Regions from separate parts of the Homo sapiens genome. Here all the other regions are linked to region 4. The links are contacts of gene promoters, found by promoter capture Hi-C in human tissues and cell types (Jung and others, 2019). All regions are on one chromosome and are shown on one strand. Each heading gives the region's core, a stretch centred on a gene start or on the middle of the fragment in contact. The rest is flanking DNA. Distances are from core to core; before and after follow the strand shown.

The links. The method cuts DNA at HindIII sites, captures the fragments that hold promoters and counts their contacts. A contact is called where the count stands out against the background at its distance.
Region 1: a contact is called between a fragment that was not itself captured here and the fragment with the promoter of KCNJ6 in region 4, in 4 of the 25 tissues and cell types used here (dorsolateral prefrontal cortex, liver, mesenchymal stem cells and 1 more).
Region 2: a contact is called between a fragment that was not itself captured here and the fragment with the promoter of KCNJ6 in region 4, in 1 of the 25 tissues and cell types used here (mesenchymal stem cells).
Region 3: a fragment that was not itself captured here is called in contact with the fragment with the promoter of KCNJ6 in region 4 in 2 of the 25 tissues and cell types used here (IMR-90 fibroblasts and mesendoderm cells).
Region 5: a fragment that was not itself captured here is called in contact with the fragment with the promoter of KCNJ6 in region 4 in 3 of the 25 tissues and cell types used here (bladder, dorsolateral prefrontal cortex and thymus).
Region 6: a contact is called between a fragment that was not itself captured here and the fragment with the promoter of KCNJ6 in region 4, in 3 of the 25 tissues and cell types used here (H1 embryonic stem cells, dorsolateral prefrontal cortex and mesenchymal stem cells).
Region 7: a contact is called between a fragment that was not itself captured here and the fragment with the promoter of KCNJ6 in region 4, in 4 of the 25 tissues and cell types used here (H1 embryonic stem cells, mesenchymal stem cells, mesendoderm cells and 1 more).

Annotation. Positions count from the first base shown.
Region 1 is chr21:38,401,320-38,404,119 of GRCh38, forward strand. ERG (ETS transcription factor ERG) reads right to left here. Exons shown (of 10, transcript NM_182918.4): 4 at 2,187-2,390; 5 at 1,238-1,318. Among named protein-coding and RNA genes, the nearest start is that of LINC01423, 57 kb to the left of the region's middle. The HindIII fragment of the contact is 6,085 bases long and covers 1-2,800 here.
Region 2 is chr21:37,606,241-37,609,040 of GRCh38, forward strand. KCNJ6 (potassium inwardly rectifying channel subfamily J member 6) reads right to left here. Exons shown (of 4, transcript NM_002240.5): 4 at 1,133-2,800. All of the region lies in intron 1 of KCNJ6-AS1 (KCNJ6 antisense RNA 1), which reads left to right. Among named protein-coding and RNA genes, the nearest start is that of KCNJ6-AS1, 89 kb to the left of the region's middle. The HindIII fragment of the contact is 4,451 bases long and covers 1-2,800 here.
Region 3 is chr21:38,198,262-38,201,026 of GRCh38, forward strand. No RefSeq gene overlaps it. Among named protein-coding and RNA genes, the nearest start is that of DSCR10, 6.5 kb to the right of the region's middle. The HindIII fragment of the contact is 7,007 bases long and covers 1-2,765 here.
Region 4 is chr21:37,915,098-37,917,850 of GRCh38, forward strand. It overlaps KCNJ6 (potassium inwardly rectifying channel subfamily J member 6), which reads right to left and starts at 1,360. Exons shown (of 4, transcript NM_002240.5): 1 at 787-1,360. The HindIII fragment of the contact is 8,322 bases long and covers 1-2,753 here.
Region 5 is chr21:38,181,675-38,184,399 of GRCh38, forward strand. No RefSeq gene overlaps it. Among named protein-coding and RNA genes, the nearest start is that of DSCR10, 23 kb to the right of the region's middle. The HindIII fragment of the contact is 4,625 bases long and covers 1-2,725 here.
Region 6 is chr21:38,347,839-38,350,571 of GRCh38, forward strand. No RefSeq gene overlaps it. Among named protein-coding and RNA genes, the nearest start is that of LINC01423, 3.1 kb to the left of the region's middle. The HindIII fragment of the contact is 3,820 bases long and covers 1-2,733 here.
Region 7 is chr21:38,226,592-38,229,442 of GRCh38, forward strand. No RefSeq gene overlaps it. Among named protein-coding and RNA genes, the nearest start is that of DSCR10, 22 kb to the left of the region's middle. The HindIII fragment of the contact is 3,540 bases long and covers 1-2,851 here.

The sequences.
Region 1 (2,800 bases), core at 136-2,635, 490 kb after region 4:
AATGTGCATAGCTCAAAGGTGTTTCCTAAGAAGGGGAAGTAACTTCCTCTAAGTTATCTGTTATTTCTGGCCACAAGGTCACTAATAGGCTGATGTGTGCAACCAAAATTATTGAAAAAGTGTACTACCAACTCGAAGCAGGTTTTTTAAAACTTCAGATTAAAAAGACAATGTGTTGAATATAGAAGACCATGATAAATGAGCAATTTCATTGTAATACTCAAACCGGGACTCACTCACATTTTATATTTTAAAATAAAATGGTAAATATTGGGAAAATTGCGTATTTCTATGTGAGGGCTGATCGTGAGTTAACTGGCTGACTTGCAAGGCTTTCTGGCACTTCCCGTCTCCCTCCCTAGCCCGAGTGATTGTGGAGGGTCCCTGCAGCTAACAGAGTGGGGTGAGCAGCCGGTGGCCATGCTTCCGGAACTCTCTCCATCAGGAAGGAGCAGATGGATGTGAACCAGGAACACATTCATCCACAGAAAACCCAGCCTCTGCTGTGAGCGGGGGGCGAGGGAGGAAGGTTAGCCAGGATGAGGCACGGTGTTAAACCCTACTTAGGCTCAGGCAAAATAAATACATAACTAAGTCAAATGTAGAGGCAACGGTTAGAGATAGAAAACAGGCATTTGGTTAGTGACTAATTTCATATTCTCCAAAATTATAGCAGAGGTTCCCTCTGAACAAAAGCTCTCAAAATGTTACAGAAATTCCCTCCTGCCTTTTGCAAACATACAAAGTCTGTAGGAAAACAAATCAAATAGCCTAAAAGTTTATTGGAAAGGAAAAAGAAAATTCCAACTTATCCTAGCAAATATTTCTTTAAGAATAAAAATGGAAAAAATTAAAGGAGGTTGCTAAGGGCCCTTTTATATCGAACATGCTTTTAGTGTCTACAGAGTCAGCACAGCGAATATATTGGGACCAACAGAAGAAGACTGTAATCCGGCAAATGTGAGCTAAGTTATGGCTAAAGGCAAATTCTGCACGTCTCCTGGTTAAAAAGGAACCCTTTGATAATCAAAGTGGGGTGCTTGGGAAGCGCTCAGAAAACCAAAGGGCTTCACCTTCCTTTAGGCTGTGGTACATTCCTAAGTATCCGAAAGTATTCTGAATCATCTACCTGCGTTCTGTCTTCCTGGCACGCGCTGACTGGTTTCCCATGAAAGCATGCAACCTGTACGTAAGACCCTACGCTCTTGCTGGGAGGCAGGGGCGGGGCCAGCATTACCTGTGTTTCTAGCATGCATTAACCGTGGAGAGTTTTGTAAGGCTTTATCAACATCATCTGAAGTCAAATGTGGAAGAGGAGCTACAAAACAAAACAAAAAGCGACATCAAAATGAAAAAAAAAAGAGAGAGAGAGAAAGAGAATTACCTTTCTTACAAAAAAAAAAAAAAAAAAAGAAAGAAAAAGAAAGAAAGAAAACCGTTCCCCCACTCCCACACTAACATCATGGGAAGCTTATAACTATTTCCAGCAACCTGCTACTTGTTAGCATGTTAAAACCTACATGGGGGCCCGTCTTTAATTCAGGGAAGAAGTGGTTGGGATGCCAGGCAAAGCAATGGAGGAGAATTTATCCACCTCACTGTCTGTCACACTACTTCCTTCTCACCATGCTGGACGTTGTAGAAATTAAAGCATGCAGCAAACATTCTGGATTCATGCCAACATGCCATCCCTTTCTGTCAGGTTAAGCCGAATCACATGATACAAAGTGAAAACTTCCCTTGTTCTGTGCTCAGGTTAGAATATAAAGTGGGGCTTCATGTAGCTTTAGGGAGAATAATCCCCCTAATTCCTACGAAAGAGAAGCCTTAATGATTCTATTTCGATTCGGGGTATCATGGAGACTTAACTAATGTGTGACCAGTTAACGCTTCCTTTCCCCTTTGACATTCCATCTTCTTGGTCGCAGGACCCTGGAGGAGGCAGCTGAGTGTTGAAGTGAATTTTGGCTTCTCCTGAGAGCGCTGACTACTTCTCATCAGGTGATGTGGCCAGGGTGTTGCTCCCCTAAGTCATCACATACCAAGCATGTGGCTCCCTCGGATCCCCAGTGGGAACTGGGCGAGGGCAGGAGGATGCTGTCGACACACCTGGTTGAACCCTCTGAAGCTCAGGTCATAAGAACCATAGCCACAGCCATCTATCCTTGGAGGAAGGGGGAGCTTACTCTCTCTGAGGTAGTGGAGATGTGAGAGAAGGATGTCGGCGTTGTAGCTGGGGGTGAGCCTCTGGAAGTCGTCCTTGGTCATCTTGCACAGTTCCTTCCCATCGATGTTCTGGAATAACAAGATGTTGACGTCTGGAAGGCCATATTCTTTCACCGCCCACTCCAGCCACTGCCGCACATGGTCTGTACTCCATAGCGTAGGATCTGAAAGGGGTGGGAACACATTCAGTCAATTCCTGAAGCCAGGGATCTTCATCTTGGGGTAGATCCCCATCCACGTGGGATTTCTGACCAGCTGCCTTCCACAAGCACAGCCTCCAGCCAGCCTCCCTGGCTACCCAGGAGAACATTTTGGGGGAAAGACAAAAGCTGCCTCACATCCATAGATCATTGTCTTTAAAGTGAATAGTTCTGGAATCTTGGGATTATTCACATCACATGCCCTTGTTTTTGCTCAATCTAAAGTTTCCTGTAGGCATAAGATTTTAAAAATTCTTTTTTCTCATTTATGTTCAATTTTATTTATTTATTTTAAAATGAGTAAGAATAAGAGGAAACTTCTTTTCCTTAGAAAACTACTGGTATATTTATATATATTTATATGGAAATAAGAG
Region 2 (2,800 bases), core at 276-2,775, 310 kb before region 4:
AGCTTCTGCTTGAGCTTTCCTTCAGAGCATAGTTTCTTTAATTTGAAAACTACCGGAATAGATGAAGAAGTGTCAGTATGGTTTTGACCAGGGAGTCGCTTTAGCCAATCCCTTGGGGGTAATGCAGAGGGTTGCCTCAGTGGCCAGAGAAAAGCAGAGATGGGGCTCTTCCCTGGATGCATCTCCACAGGGTTGCGTGGGGCTTGATGGGTGCCAAGTGCGACAGACACACAGGGGCTGGGGGACACAGAGGACAGGGTAATAATTCCACCAGGCACAACAGTAATATTGGCAGGGGCACATTAGGAAAATCAGGACGAAATACACACGATGTCCCAGGGTTTGTTTCACCAAACACTAGCTTCTGGGAAAGAATTTATCTTAGGCACATTTTTACATGACTTTTGTTCATGTTACAGTATGAGGCAACTCACGTGTCATTTTAAACCTTGGCTTCCTGCACGCCTCGGTAGAGAGGGACAGCTGGCTAAGCCACCAGCCCGAGATTCCCTGGTGGGGAGGAGTTAGAGCCGAGCCGAGGCACTGGAGTTTGGCAAAGCCAACCCATGCAAAATGGACCACTGAGAACACGAAAAACTCTCACGGAATGTTTCTTTAGTCCAACATGGAACTTTATCATGAATGATCAAACTCCTTTTATTAAGACTCTTAGAGCTGTGACAAGGGGCAGGATCAACTGCTCTGCAAGTCCCTAATTCCCTTTCGTTTTTTTCAAGTTCCATGAAGTGCAAGGTACAAACAGGTATCAAAGGAGTCCCACTTGGGTCAGTAGGTGTGGAAAGGAGCGGAGCTGACCCATTGCTGGGATCTGGCCATAGGCAGAACATTGTGGGAGAGATGGGGAAAGAGACAGGAGGGGGAGAGCGAGAAGGAGGAAAGGGAGCAAGAGAGTTAGGGAGAGAAAGAAAGAGATGGAGAGAGAGGAAGAGTGGGAGGGAAGAAGAGAGAAGATCACTCCAAACCCATGGTACTATCCTTGGGTTATGCCTGATATGCCTGACATCTTGAGTGGCCCTGGGGCAGGGTGTTGCGCTTTGAAACAATTCATGCTCTCACTTGTAGAAAAGGCCGACTTCTTTGGACACAGACACACATAAAAAAGAAACCAAGGCCATATCAAATTTTTCTTTTATTGTTCCAGTCAAAAAAAGAGGAACACCTCAATATGTAAACAGTTTCCCTAACACAGCGAGTTCTTAAAGATATATATATATATATATATTTTTTTTTTATTTTAAAAAAATTTGGCATTGTAGTGATTTCTCAATACATAATTTGTGCTTTCGCATTGAGCATGCTTTCGTCTCATTGTCCGTGCACAGACATACTTGGAGTTGAGTAAAGGGAGTTACAAAAGGACCAAAAAATGGGACAGGAGCCAAACCAGTACTTGAGCCCTACCTGGTGTTCCTTCCTAAAAAGCATGGTGGAAAAGTTGGCAAGATTGACCTCAGAAGCAAATCTTAGTGACTTTATTCCAAAGAAATCTTAGAAGCCTTGGTAGCAACTTTTGAAAGAAGCATTTCTTGTTTTCTTTCTGTTCATCCCTAAAGGATCATTGGTTTTGCTTGGAGAAAACTTTAGTTATTTTGTATGTTATATTTCTTAATATCCCTAAGTCCCTTCTAAAATAAACTCTTGTTTTGTGATTTTGCTGGACACATGATGGTTTACAACTACATGCTATTGAAATTCCACTAGTGATTTATTCTGCTTTTTGCTGAATCATTTCAAAGTGCTTGACAGTTGTGTAAAGACCTTTTGGTTTTGTCCAGTGAAAATTATTTTTTAATTCAATACTAAAGACTTCAGAGCCTTTAAGATGCAATGATGGGTTTATCAATAATACTGTTCATGCTATTCGTTTCTTAGTCCTTGTCCTTAGCCTGAAATTCTAAGTCTCTATAAATTAGCACCAGTTTTCCAAATGCATATTTTATCAAATCCTATGATCCTAGGCTGGTCTAGGTACCATCCCCCAATCTTACCTTGTGTGTTTCTGTTTTAAGACCCTCTCCCATGCTGGCCTTGCAAACTGAAATGCCTTTGCTTTTGGATCTCTCTCTCTCTTTTTAAAATAGAGATGGGGTCTTGCTGTGTTGCACAGGCTAATCTTGAATTCCTGGGCTCAAGCAATCCTCCCACCTTGGCCTCTCAAAGTGCTGGAATTACAGGCATGAACCATTGTGCTTGCCTGCCCTTGGATCTCTGTCTCCAAAACCTAAGCAGTCTTTGAGAAATGTCAGGGCAAATGTCCCTTTCTTCCTCATGAGGCCATTTCTTACTGCTTACGCAGAAACTGATCTACTTTCTTTACATTCCAGCAAATTTGTTGTGCCTGTCCCTCTTCGTTTAGGTATTTCTAAAACTAGACTCAGTTACTTCACGTGTGAAGTGGGAAGCAGTATTTTCTCACAGGGTTTTGTGTGGTTCGATGCACTTAGCGCAGTGTTGTTGCATGGTAAGGGCTGGCAGCCATGGGATTACAGGCTTGTTGAGGACAGTGGGGGATGTTACTTTTTCTCAGAGTCTTCATAGTAACTTGTCAAGGACATCACTCACTGTACTGCAAGTGTTCACTGAGTGCTCATGGCCAGCACTCAGGCAAGTGAATACACATTTGGAGTAATAAAATATGGGGCATCAGCTAACTTTCAGAATATTTTGAGTGGAGTTTTGTCCTTGTCTAGTTTTAGTTGCCTGTTGGGATCCCTGAGTATAAAAATACAAGTGTGTGCCTGCTCCCAGCATTGACGAGCTTCATGAACCTTGAAAATGG
Region 3 (2,765 bases), core at 47-2,546, 280 kb after region 4:
CTTTGGCTATGTGGGCTCTTTTTTGGTTCCATATTAATTTTAGGGTTTTTTTTTGTAATTCTTTGAAGAATGATGGTGGTATTTTGATGGGAATTGTGTTAAATTTGTAGATTGCTTTTGGCAGTATGGTCATTTTTCCAATATTGATTCTACTCATCCATGAGCATTAGATGTGTTTCCATTTGTTTATGTCATCTATGATTTTTTTCAGCAGTATTTTGTAGTTTCCCTTGTAGAAGTCTTTTACCTCCTTGGGTAGGTATATTCCTAAGTATTTTACTTTTTTGCAGCTATTGTAAAAGGGGTTGAGTTCTTGATTTTATTCTCACCTTGGTTACTGTTGGTGTATAGAAGACCTACTGATTTCTGTACATTAATTTTGTATCTGGAAACTTTGCTGAATGCTTTTGTCAGTTCTAGGAGCATTCTGGAGGAGTCTTTAGAGTTTTCTAGGTAAACAATCATATCATAAGCAAACAGCAACAGTTTGACTTCCTCCTTCCTCTTTACCCATTTGGATGCCCTTTATTTCTTTCTCTTGTCTAATTGCTCTGTCTAGAACTTCCAGTACTATGTTGAAGAGGAGTGAGAGTGAGCATCCTTGTCTTGTTCCAGTTCTCAGAGGGAATGCTTTCAACTTTTTCCCTTTCAGTATTATGTTAATTGTGGGTTTGTCAGAGATGGCTTTTATTACATTGAGGTATGTCCCTTGTATGCCAATTTTTCTGAGAGTTTTAATCATAAAAAGATGTTGGATTTTGTCTAATGCTTTTTCTGCATGTATTAAGATAATCATGTGATTTTTGTTTTTGATTCTGTTTATGTGATGTTCACATTTATTGACTTGCATATGTTAAACCATCCCTACATGCCTGGTATACAACCCACTTGATCATGGTGGATTTTTTTTTTTTTTTTGATATGTTGTTGGATTCGGTTCACTAGTATTTTGCTAAGGATTTTAGCATCTATGTTCATCAGGAATATTGGTCTGTAGTTTTCTTTTTTGGTTATGTCCTTTCCTGGTTTTGGTAATAGGGTGATATCAGCTTCATAGAATAATTTAGGGAGGGTTTCCTCTTTCTCTATATTGTGGAATAGTGTCAATAAGATTGGTACCAATTCTTTGAATGTCTGGTAGAATTCTGCTATGAATCCATCAGTCCTGGACTTTTTGTTTTTGGTAATTTTTAAATTACCATTTCAATTTCACTGCTTGTTATTGGTCTCTTCAAGGTATCTAATTATTCCTGATTTAAGCTAGGAAGGTTGTATCTTTCCAGGAATTTATCCATCTCCTCTAAGTTTTCTAGTTTATGTGTATAAAGGTGTTCATAGTAGCCTTGAATGATCTTTTGTATTTCTGTGGTGTCAGCTGTAATATCTCCCATTTCATTTCTAATTGGGTTTATTTGGATTTTCTCTCTTCTTTTCTTGGTTGATCTTGCTAATGGTCTATCAATTTTATTTTATCTTTTCAAAAAACCAGCTTTTTGTTTCATTTATCTTTTCTATTTTGTGTTTGTTTGTTTGTTTCAATTCTATTTAGTTCTGCTCTGGTCTTGGTTATTTCCTTTCCTCTGCTGGGTTTGGGTTTGGTTTGTTCTTATTTCCCTAGTTCCTTGAGATGTGACCAGATTGTTTGTTTGTGCTCTTTCAGACTTTTTGATGCAGGCATTTGGGGCTATGAACTTTCCTCTTAGCACTGCCTTTGCTGTATCCCAGAGGCTTTAGTAGGTTGTGTCACTATTGTCATTCAGTTAGAAGACTTTTTAAATTTCCACCTTGATTTCATTTTTGACCCAATGGTCACTCAGGAGCAGATTATTTAATTTCCATGTATTTGCATGGTTTTGAAGGTTCCTTTTGGAGTTGATTTCCAGTTTTATTCCACTGTGGTCTGAGAGAGTGATTGATATAATTTCAATTATCTTATATTTATTAAGGCCCATTTTGTGGCCTATCATATGGTCCATCTTGGAGAAGATTCCATGCGCTGTTAAATATAATATATATCCTGCAGTTGTTGGGTAGAATATTCTGTAAATAATCATTGTTTATTTGCTGACCTTCTGTCTTGGTGACCTGTCTAGTGCTGTCAGTGGAATATTGAAGTCCCCTACTATTATTGTGTTGCTGTCTATATCATTTCTTAGGTCTATTAGTAATTGTTTTATAAATTTGGGAGCTCCAGTGTTAGGTGCATATATATTTAGAACTGTGATATTTTTCTGTTGGACAAGGTCTTTTACCATTATATAATATCCCTCTTTGTCTTTTTTAACTGCTGTTGCTTTAAAGTTTGTTTTGTCTGACATAAGAATAGCTACTCCTGCTTGCCTTTGGTGCCCATTTGCATGGAATGTCTTTTTCCACCCCTTTAACTTAAGTTTATGTGAGTCCTATGTGTTAGGTGTATCTCTTGAAGGCAGCAGATGGTTGGTGAATTCTTATCCATTCTGCAATTCTGTATCTTATAAGTGGAGCATTTAGGCCATTTACATTTAACGTTAGTATTGAGATGTGTGGTACCATTCCATTCATCAGGTTGTTTGTGCATGCATAACTTGGTTTTCTGTGTATGTGTTTTTTTTAATTGTATTTTTGTTTCATAGGTCCTTTGAGATTTACGCTTTAAGAAAGTTCTGTTTTGATGTGTTTCCAAGATTTGTTTCAAGATTTAGAGCTCCTTTGAACAGTTCTTGTAGTGCTAGCTTGATAGTGGCAAATTCTCTCAGCATTTGTTTGTCTGAAAAAGACTGTAT
Region 4 (2,753 bases), core at 110-2,609:
TTTTATTGGGTTTTGGGAATACTGATGTTATTTCACTTAAAAACTAATCCAAGCTTAATGTTTTGATGAAAATGAAAATATATCCACAGGGAAGCAAATATCCACAGCCACCCAGTCCTCTAAATGCCACACACATCTCATTTTATCTAAAGTGTTTTTTCTTCCCTTCCAATTACAAAATAATTCAGTTTACTCCTAGGAAGATCTTCCTATTCACTGTTTTTAGTCATGCTAGCACATCTTCGGTTTTAAGGATAGAGAACAGTTAGGAGTTACAGTATTCTGTTTCCCATTCTCCGCATGTTTCTCCCCAACCCTCACTTTTCCTCCCTTTCGTGTTGTCTCCTCTCCTCTCCATGCAAAGCAGAACAAGAAGACTGCCTTCCACAAAGACAATAGGCTTTTCCCAACTGTAAATGACTACATCACAAGCCGCACCTGTCAGTTAATCAGTGCATTTAAGTCTTTGCCAGCGGATGTTGAAATGATGTCTGCAATAACTGACTGGGTTTCTGCGAGCCCAGGGATGCAGACCCCTCCTTCCCCCGCCCCCCGTGCGAGTTTCAGTCGCTAATGAAAACCGTATGAAACAGATTCCCCTTCTGTTATGTAACCGGCTTCTCCCTCGCCTTTCGGCTGACTTGGGCACAATGTTTCTCATGAGAGTGGAGATGCCTGCGGCGACGGCGGAGCTGGGGAAGGGGACGCGGGGACCCGAGAGCACGGAACGCCTCGCCCAGGTGGACGCCAGCTCCTCGCCTGCGAGCAGCTCAGCGCACCGCTTACCTGGCTGCGGACGGGGTGGCTTCACTCAATCATGATCTCCTCTCTTGAAACGGAGCAAGACTGAACAATTCACTACACGACGGATGGCGAGGGAAGGAAATGCAAAAAAGAAAAGGAAAAGAAAAAAACTGGAATCAGATGGTCAAATTTCACATCAGCACCGAGAGGCTGTTAGGAGACTCCATTCTGCTCGCGGCTGCTCCGGCTCCAGGTCCGGCTTCCCGGCGTCCGCGGGTCTCCACCCCTCCGCCCGCCCAGCCTCTCCAGCCAGGTGCGGCCGTCTCCGGACTGGCTCCCTCTGGCCGAGCGCGGAGAGCAGGGCTGGGCGCTGGGGCCAAGGGAGGGGCGGAGGGGCGCGCGTTTGGGCAGGGACGGGGGAGGGAGACTGGGTGGAATGAAGTGGGGAAAGATAAGAGTGGCAGAAGAAAAAAAAAATCCCCGGTTAGGAGAAAAGTGGTGGACCACGCAGAGAGACGTCATGAAATCCGCAGATTCAATGAATGCTACTCAATTCCAGCCGACTGGCTGAGCCCCGCTGGCAGCGCACGAAGCGACGCGGCTCCGAGATAAAAGCGAGTGCAGCGCCGCGTGCTGGGGAAAAAGCCGCACAGCGCCGGCGCGGTCCGGGAGGAAGGGGCGGGGGCGAGCAGGACAGAGCCACAGACCCAGAGACGCCCACCCCGCCGCCCATGCCAGCTAGCGTGTCAGCGCGTCGAGGACCGGGCTTGGTGGGGGCGGGCTGGGCACAAACCAACGTGCATCCCCCGCCACTGGAAACGTGGGTGCTCCATGCTGGGGGAATCTTTTGGGTTTCGGTCCCCGACCCCCCAGTCCCAACCTTTCTCCCAGTGCCACTAAGTAAGTTATTCCCGGAGAAACGCCTGGAAAGCAGGAAAGAGCCGAAGCTCGGGGAGCAGTTTTGTCTGCTGGTTGTAGGGGTTCGGCTTTTAGGGTTTTGTGAGATAAGGAAAAAGAGGCTCTGGGCACTGCCTCCCACCGGGCTGAAATCCGTGAGAGGCAGCCCCGGCGCGGGAGCCGGAGCCTGCACCGCCCAGAGGGGGCGCAGCGAGCGGCCGGGACGGAGGGGAGGGGCCCTATCCCTGAGCTTTGCTTGCACCTGGTGGCGCCCCAGCCTGCTGCCCCATTCAGTCCCTTCTGTCCTGTCCACTGCAACTGGGACCTGGTCCCGGCTGCTGCATCATCACCCCATCCTTATATGATGTCTCTGGGGTCACTGGAGACAAAGAATGGCCTTTTCCAAGAATGACCCAGGCTGCCTTCAAAGTTGAATTTGTCAGGATAAGCCCCTTAGACAAAGGTCTACTCCACTCTTTGAATCTAACTTGCTTTGTGCTGTTATTCCAGGGGCCCCTCATAGTGCTCCCCTCTTGCACCCCCTCTTTTTCTTATGGTCATCAAAAACAATGGTTCTACATTTCCAAAGTCTTCCCATAAATTGCTTCTACCTATGAACAGAACTCTCTTTTATGCTGTCTTTTTCCTAGGGATGAATGGATTGACAAATTGTAAGAGTAGCGAATACCATTGGCTAGTAATTTTATAATGGCCCTTTCAATAACTGGCTATTCTTGTGCTGCTTTATGAAGTGGCTTTCCTTCCACAAGGCACAGAATCTCTACCTCAAAGAAGGTGACCTTATTTTAGAGAGAAGGCTTACGGAAACCTCTTATTTCCAAGATTATTTTATTCTACATACATACATTTTAATTACCTAGCAATTCAGGTCCCCTCAAGAATGCTGTCTGCCCTCTAAAAATGACTGTAATATGGAGAGGTGTTTGTGTCAATTTGCATCCAAAGTCATGTAAAAGTCAACCGTACACACGGCCTGTGAGCTTGTATTTGCTGTTGATTTTCCCTAAGAGGTTGTAATCTGACTTGCTATTACTTCTGAGTCATATATCCCATATACAGAAGATATGAGTATGTGTAATATCTGTAGTATG
Region 5 (2,725 bases), core at 211-2,710, 270 kb after region 4:
GTTTGAGAAGTCAGAGTATGGAGTTCATAACTGGAAAAACTTCTGGGGTGTGAGGTGGGTAGGAATGCCAAAAAGGAGGATGTCAAGGAGGGGGGATCCCCCAAATCTGTGTGCAGACTTTGCCCCAGTTCCTGGCTGACTACACACGCATAAACTGCGCATGCATGTGGAAAATGTCAAGGGTCCTAGAAGGAGGCAGCAGATGGAGGACAGAGGGAATTGAGAGGAGATATCAACTGCAGTCCCCCACAGACAGGCAGCCAACTTCACCACCCTCTAAGGCAGAACTCAACACTCTGACCAAGTCTCTAAAACAAAACATTTACAAAGCCCATAGTAAAATAAAATATTGGTAGACATGTGAAGAAATAGAAAAATGGGACTCAAAAAAAGAAAAGCAGTCATTAGCAACCACTTCTAAAGAGACCAAAAGTTTGGAGTTATGAGAGAAGGAGTGCACAGCACCTATGAAGAGTATATGCAAAGATATAAAGGAACACGGGGTCATGGTGAGGGTCAACTGGGAATCCTGGCAGGAGAAAATAAATATATATACATAAAGAAATAATTATAGAACTAAAAATCAAAATGTCTGAGATGAAAAATTCAATTATTTTCCTTAAGAGCAGATTGGAGAAAGCAGAATAATAGACAGAGACAAATAGAAAGCAAGTAAGAACTTGATAGACATGAACCTAATGATATAATTCATTACATAAATGTAGATGGAGTAAACATTTAAACTAAAAGGTATAAATGATCAGACTGTACAAAAATATAAGACTAAACTATATGCTGTTTTTCTTAGTGATGGTTCTCTAGAAAAACAGAGCCAATAGGATGTGTGGGTGTGGATGTTGAGGAGAGAGAGAGAGAGAGAGAGAAAAAGAGAGAGAGAAAAAAAAGAGAGAGAGAGAGACTTATTTAAAGAAATTGGCTCATGTTACCTTGGAACCTGGCAAGTCTAAAATCCGCATAGTAGGCCAGCAGGCTGGAGACCCAGGAAGAATTAATGTTGCAGCTCTGGTTCAAAAGCAGATGGCAGGTAGAATTCCTTCTTCCTTGGGTGGGGAACTTCCATCTTTTTCTCTTAAGGCCTTCAACTGATAAGAGGATGCCCACCCACATTATAGAAGATAAACTGCTTTACTTAACGTCCCCTGATTTCAATGTTAATCTCACCCAAAAACTGTCTTCACAGCAACATCCAGTCTAGTGTTTGACCAAATATCTGGGTGCCATGACCTTGCAAAGTTTATGTTAAAGCATAAAATTACAGAACCTTTTTATCCCCTTATAGTCTTGGCTCATCTTTATGTTTTTGAATCTCATAACTGCTTCTGTTTGATCACAGCTTGATTCACTGATCTTATTGCATGGAGGCATTGCCTTCTTTTATTCTATTGAGAATGGAAAATTGTTTCCAAAATAATTTATTTCTGGCTTTTCTATAAATCATTTTGAAAAGTCTCTGTGCTTCTCTGAGTCTTCAGGGATACTGATTCTTTCAACTTTTTGAATCTTTTGTTCAAATCAGGACTGTATTGATCTTTTTCTTTTAGATTCATTCTTCACAAAAGAAACATTTATCTAGACTTGACAAAAGCCTAGAGAAAAATGTGTTAATTGCCCTTTCATAGTTGATTAGATTACTGGTTATATTGGTCAAGGCTCATAGTGGAAGAAAGTAGAATGCACTCTATTTGATCTGAAAAGAAAGTGATGTATCAGATGGAATGATGAACCTTACAGAATCTCAGTGAGGCCCAGGGCATAAGGTTTAATTATCACATAATCAAAAATACAGCAATCAAAGGAAATGCCCAACCACCTATGGAACTGTTTCTGTTGCTGCTGCCTACTGCTCAGTACCTAAGTTTCTAGGAATCAGACTTCAGAAACTGCCAGACCTGCAACGGGAGAATGAACGTTTCTGTCACGAACCATGGCCACTGGCTCCCATTGTTCACACCCTCCTGGTCTCATGTGGACATCTGCTTGGCAGAATCTAAGCCACATGCAAAATCTTCTCTGCTAAGTACGGTTTTTAGTCTCCTGGCATCTGTTATACTAGAAGGTTCAGTAGAAGGAAGTGGGAATGGCAGCGGAGTGAGCCAGTGAAAAATCTGCTGCACTAAACAATCTCAGTGCTGGATGGAATACCCACATCTCAAATCCAAGGTCTAGAAGACCTTTATCCATGGTGGCTTCACTGTAAATGAGTGGACCTCTCATCATGTCACTGATTTTCTGGGACTCTATACTAAAGAAAGATTTTTTAAAAATTGCAATTCCTTCTTATATCAACTCCAGGGCTCCTCCTTCCTGCATCTTCCTCCACAAAGCTTTATTTTCTTAAATGAAATGTGTCACCAGCAATTCTCTCCCCAAACCTTCCACACCACAACTCACCATACTCACTAGATTTTTGAGAATCTTAGTCTTGAGTGAAAATACAAGTGTGTGGGGAAAAAAAGGAGAAGTAGATTCTGACCACCAACACAGTAGAAGACGAGCCACATGGTTTCCAGGCTGGCACAGATCCTGGGTACATGAGCTGGGAACAGACTTGATGCAGGGATAATTTTGGGTAAATTAATTGACCTGTTTAAGGATATTTGGAATAAGTTACCTATAAGCAGAATTCTAGAGGTAATGTCCTATGATTTTATAAAATCTGGAAGTCACTCATTTACATATTGGAAATTCTTTTTCTTGACAAAAA
Region 6 (2,733 bases), core at 18-2,517, 430 kb after region 4:
TGTCTAAACCTCAGTTTTTCTATCTGTAAAATATGGTTCTTGAGAGGCTGCAATGAGATGATATACCTAAGAGAAAGCCCAGAGCCTGGCAGGCAATAGCCAAGCGATGGTAGCAGTTATTATCCCTAGTGGAAATCGCAGCACATGAACACTCTTGGATTGTTGTTTGTTTCACAGCTCGAGTCTCTGGAACTGGAGGAATCCCTTCCAGTTACCTCCTGTTCTTGCTTTTCGGATGCCGGGGGCCTCTCTTGCCAGAACAGCGGTCATGAGCCATGAGGGCAGTTTCTACACATCTTCCTAGACAGGATGGCTTGGCTTATGATCTGGAAGATGTTTTGCCACTGTTCAGCCACAAGAATGGTTGTCATTTGCTCCGTTGCTTGTAAAGGAAGGCTCGTCTATGGCATTTGGTTAGTGAGAGCAGCAGTTTAGAGAATAAGGAAAGAAGTTTGTTTGAAGAGAGTCTCAGAAAGTGAAAGGTAACTGTTTTACACAGATGATGGATGAAGCGACTCCTTTTGCAATAAGCCCTTATCTTTCCTTAAAGCTTGTTCCAAGGGGGAAAGCCTATCACCTGGCCTACTGTGATTCTTGGAGTCTCCTCTGGCAAAAGAGGTGGCAGTTGTGGCTTGCCTCCATTTCGTTTTCTCTGCTGAGACCTCCAGAAAGTCAACCTGCCTCAGAAGGTGCAGGTCCCATGGGTTGTGGCCCCTCACGGGATGGTTACAAGGCAGGCAACTGAGTCACACATTTCGTTGCTTCCCAGGACACTGGAGACTTCTCACCTTGAGGGTGGGAGAGGTCTGACGGTTTGAAGGAAAGAGGGATTCCTACATACTGCAGGTCTTGGTAGGGAAAATGTCTTTGTTTATGAAGCCTTGGCGAGCACAATCATGAGTGATTTGGGGAAGGATTTCCTGGGGAATGGAGACTCTGTGAAACAGACAGGTCTCGCCTCATTTCTCTCTAGTCCCTGGCAGCAGCTGCTCACAGGAAAGAGTGCAGGGTCTTTGCTAAGATTCACTGAGGTTCCAGCACTGCATAGAAACAAGTAGCTAAGTGTCCCAGTAATTGTCACCATCTGTACCTAAGAGAAAGGAAAACCTCACGTGTGACCATCTTTTTTTTTAAGCAATCATTTCTTGAGAGAATAAAGCAGAAAAACCTGAACTTATCCTTTTGCTTGTACTAGGAGAAAGAGAAAACGCAACAAAACACACACACCTGACCCCTAGCTAACCTTTCTCAGGATGGGGATGGGAGGGTCCTGTCTGGAATCTCAGAAGTTGGGGCTTCCTAAGGCACCCCTACACCCCCGTTTCCTGGAATCTGCTAAAAGAAAATGGAAAACTAGCCGAGATATTTGACTGAGGTTTCTTAAGAAAACATATTCTCGGTTTGGGTTGTTTTCTGAGGGGAGGGTTGGAGCGATGTGGTTTAAGTAAGAAAATTGCTCATGAACAGTGATGGAAATAGTGACTCTCTTGACTGTTCCACATGTCTCTGGCTATAGTTACAGGAAGCAAAGTGGAACAGTGTTTGCGAATTACCTGGGGAACACGGGCAGAGTGGACAACTGATCTAAAAGGCTGGAGCCAAGAAAACATCACTGCATCAGTGATCTGGGTAATTCCATGGCTGGAGCATGTGTTTAGTTACTTAAGTGGAAGGTGGGGACGATCTTATTTCGGGAGCCTGGCTAGACTCCAAGATGAAATAAGATAACCTACTTCATCTAATTTGTTGCCCACACTCCCTAGAGACTAACGCATCTCAGGTCTCTCTGACGTCTATCCTAGTGAATCTCAAAAGATTTATTTTCATACTCTTTTAATAAGGTCAGTCAACCAAAATCTAAACTACTTGACTTGACTTTGAAAATGGTTTTAGAATCACAGTTCATAGTATAAGAGCACAAACAGTTTCCATTATCTTTGAATAAATCCAATAAATAATATTCACAAATTCTAAGACACAGACAATTTTAGTTGTTTGACCAACAGAATCAGTTTTTCTCCGGTGTATCTTTGTGGTTAGCCTTTATGATGTCACGTTTCTGCTACCAACTATCTATTCAGGGAAAGATAAACAGAGGGCAAACAATATTTGTTTATACCTTTTGGGCTAAAGACACAAAAATTCTGCTTAATTGCCTTCATCAATCAGTAGAAGATCCTAAATTCCTGGGGATCATGGAGCTCAAATGGTTAGGGTGGGCCATGTGTACACAGTCATTCATTCAATAATTCATTCACTCTCTCAGCCAGTCAATAAGTGTTGCACATCTGCAAAGTGCCCGGCACTGGGCTAGGCTCTGGGCATTTCAAGATGAATAAGACCCCACTTCTGAATGACGCAAAGAGCTTTCCAGCTACACAGTGGCATTTGTAATGTCACAGGCAGTCCAAGGAGGGAGTGGTTACTTCACAGAAGTCACTAGAGAAAAAGAGTATTTATGCAGGGCCTACAAGGATGGGAAAGATTTTGGCAGGGAGAAGCAGAGGGCTAAGGAGCTCTAGAAAGATGAGTTTCCAAGTATAAGCAAACTGAGGAAGCTGGAAATGAGGAAAATGGGGTGGTCAGCATGGCTGAAGCTTGGGAAATGCGGAGCGGAGTGGTGGCAAGTAAGCCACTGACAAATTGCCGAGTTTCTTCAGAAGTAACGAGTGGGGCTTTTCTCTGTAGTAGCTGGGAACCAAAGAAAATGTGTGCGTGGAGGCAGAGGCAGTC
Region 7 (2,851 bases), core at 32-2,531, 310 kb after region 4:
GCAGGTTTTCACAGGGTGTGGCTCCAATTTCCTAAATTCCCAGGGGCCGAGTAGGTTATTATGGGTCATTCTGAGCACATGTTAGACATTGCCTGCACACAGCTTGGGTGAGGGCATTGAGCCGTGGCACATAGAGGTGGCATCCCAGTAGCGTTTGTAGTGCCGTTTTCCCCATGTGAGTCTCTTGGTGGAATTGTTTTACAAACTTAGGGGCCACCATTTCAGGGATGGCTAGTCTCCCATCAGAGAATTTCCACCATCCTCCTTCAGTGCATTTTCCAGTTTCTTGGGCAAACCAGGCCTTCTCATTTGGAGAGTAACTTGGGATCTCGGGGAGGGAAGGTTCTGGGAGGAGAAGCATAGCTAAGGATTCCTTTTCAAAGTGTGGAGTAATCATTGCTGTCCGTTTTGCCTCCCTGTCTGCCTTTCTGTTTCCTTTGGCCTCTAGTGTTCTTGCTTTTTGGTGCCCTCTGCAGTGCATAACAGCTACCTTCTTTGGGGCCTATACAGTACCTAAGAGCTGTAAAATCTCCTCTTTGTATTTTATTTCTTTTTTTCCCAGCAGTTAAGAGTCCTCTCTCCTTGTATATAGCTTCATGAACATGCAATGTGGCAAAGACACACTTTTGTCTTTGTGATTTGGAATCAGTGTAAATATTGACCTTTTTGTCTCTCATCAGCAAAAGAGCCCTTGTTAGGGCCATTAGCTCTGCCTTCTGGGCTGATGCTCCGGTGGGCAGAGGCTGAGCCTCTATCACTGAGTCCAACGTTACCACCGCATAACCTGCCCAACGGACCCCTTCCAGTATGAAACTGCTCCCATCTGTGAACTACTTAACAACTGGGTCCCTGAGGGGTTGGTCTGTAAGGTCTCCCCTACTCAAGAATACTTCATCTACCATTTTCACACAGTCATGGAGTGGGGTTCCCAGTTCAATCAGGAGCAAGGTGGCTGGGTTAAGGGTGTTTACTGTTTCTAAAGCTATGTGGGGATTTTTGCATAGGAGTCCCTGGTACTGAGTCATTCCTGGATTTGATAACCAGTGATGCCCTCTCTGGTTCATTAGAGTTATAACTGAATGTGGTAACTGGATGGTCAGCTGCTGCCCTAGAGTCAGTTTGTTAGCTTCTTGTGCCAGTAGGGCAGTGACAGCTAGTGTCTTAAAGCAAGGAGGCTACCTTAGTGCCACTGAGTCTAGTTGCTTGGATAAGTATGCCACCAGGCGATGCCACAATCCTATGAATTGAGTCAGGACTCCTACAGCCATTCCTTTTTGTTCATGGACATATAGAAAGAAAGGCTCAGTTATGTCAGGCAGTCCTAAGACTGGGGCCTGTGTTAAGGCTTCTTTGATTTTTTTAAATGCTTTCTCCTGGTCAGCCTCCCAGAGGAGGGGTTCCTTTTCTCTCCCCTTGAATCTGGCCATGTTCAGTATAATAGAGGGGTCCCTGAGTTTCCCGGGGAGGCATCTGCAAAGCCCAGGCATGGCCAGACTGGAGGCAGCAGGCTTGATCATCCTGACTTTCCTCCTTGACCTGGGGCAGTGGTTTTGATTTTTCTTTTTGAGGCAAGGCCCAGGGTTCGTTACCATTTGAATTTGACTCCTCGGGGGCTGGCCTTAGTAAAGGCGGGTAGATTGGACTGTAGGGAGGATTCCTATCTCCTCTGGTGATTCCTGCAGAACTGGTTTTTCCTGTGGCTTTCCCTTTGTTTCTGTAGCTGACAGCGAAGCTGATTTTTCTTTCACTTTAAGCTTGGCTTGAGCCACGAGTGTTTTGCCATAAGCTGTCAGGCAGAGCTGCAACCACGCAGGTCAGTTTTGGACTATATGTAGCCATGAGTCAATATAAGGAAATTGGTCTGGATGCCCTGGCTGTCCTCCCAACCCAGTCACCACCTTAAATACATGGCCAATTGTTTCCCTATCTATAGTTCCTTCGACCAGCCATCTCACACCAAAAGAGGTCCATTCTATTTCACAGAGAGTTCTCAACCTCTGGGGGGTCAACTTGATCCCACAACACTCTGCATAACTTTTCTTGAAGTTCTTTAACATACATTGTAATGGGGTGGGTTTTGACAGCTTCCTTCCCATTTCCTCCCAGTTATGACACAACTTATTCACTCTTTTACTTTCTCTTCAGACTGATTAGACCATCTCCCTCATGGGAACTTTCAGATGCTGCTTAGCTTTAATGGAGGGTTCATATGAGTCCCAAACCTGGACCACCACAATCACTGAATTGTGGGGTGCCTCCCTAAGCCATATGTGGTAGCCCCGGAGGACGTTTGCCACTAGTCCTGGTTGGTCCCACACTTTGCTAGGGGCGTATGGTCTATGCTAAGAGACCTGTGGCCCCACACACTTCACTCCCCACATTGACTCCTTTTAGAACTGCCTCTTTCACATGCATTCACACACTTCCCTGCTCCCCATTCCTTTTCTCTGGGTGGGGTGTAGGTTTCATCCGACTTTGTGAGCCACTCCCACATCCTGGGTCAGACTACTCAGTGCACCCCTAGGAGTTGATCAGGCTCCCCTTCTGTCCTTATGGGATGGGTCCTGTCTTGGGCCCCAAACCTTACCACAGTCCTGTGGCGCACTATCCCTGAAATCATCCTGTAATCCCTTGGATTCTGTTGCGCTGTCAGGGAGGGGTACTGGATCACGGAAGAACCAATCCCTTCTCTGGGTTTAAGTTCCCCGATGGCATGCCTGAGGTCACAGGTCTCCCCCAGCTCAGGGCCCCAGACCCACAGGCAAAGGAGACAGCAAACCTGTCATCTCCACTCCTGGCTGGTTCACCAAAATATTGCAGGAATGAGGAGACTGGAGAGACTACTGGGTGG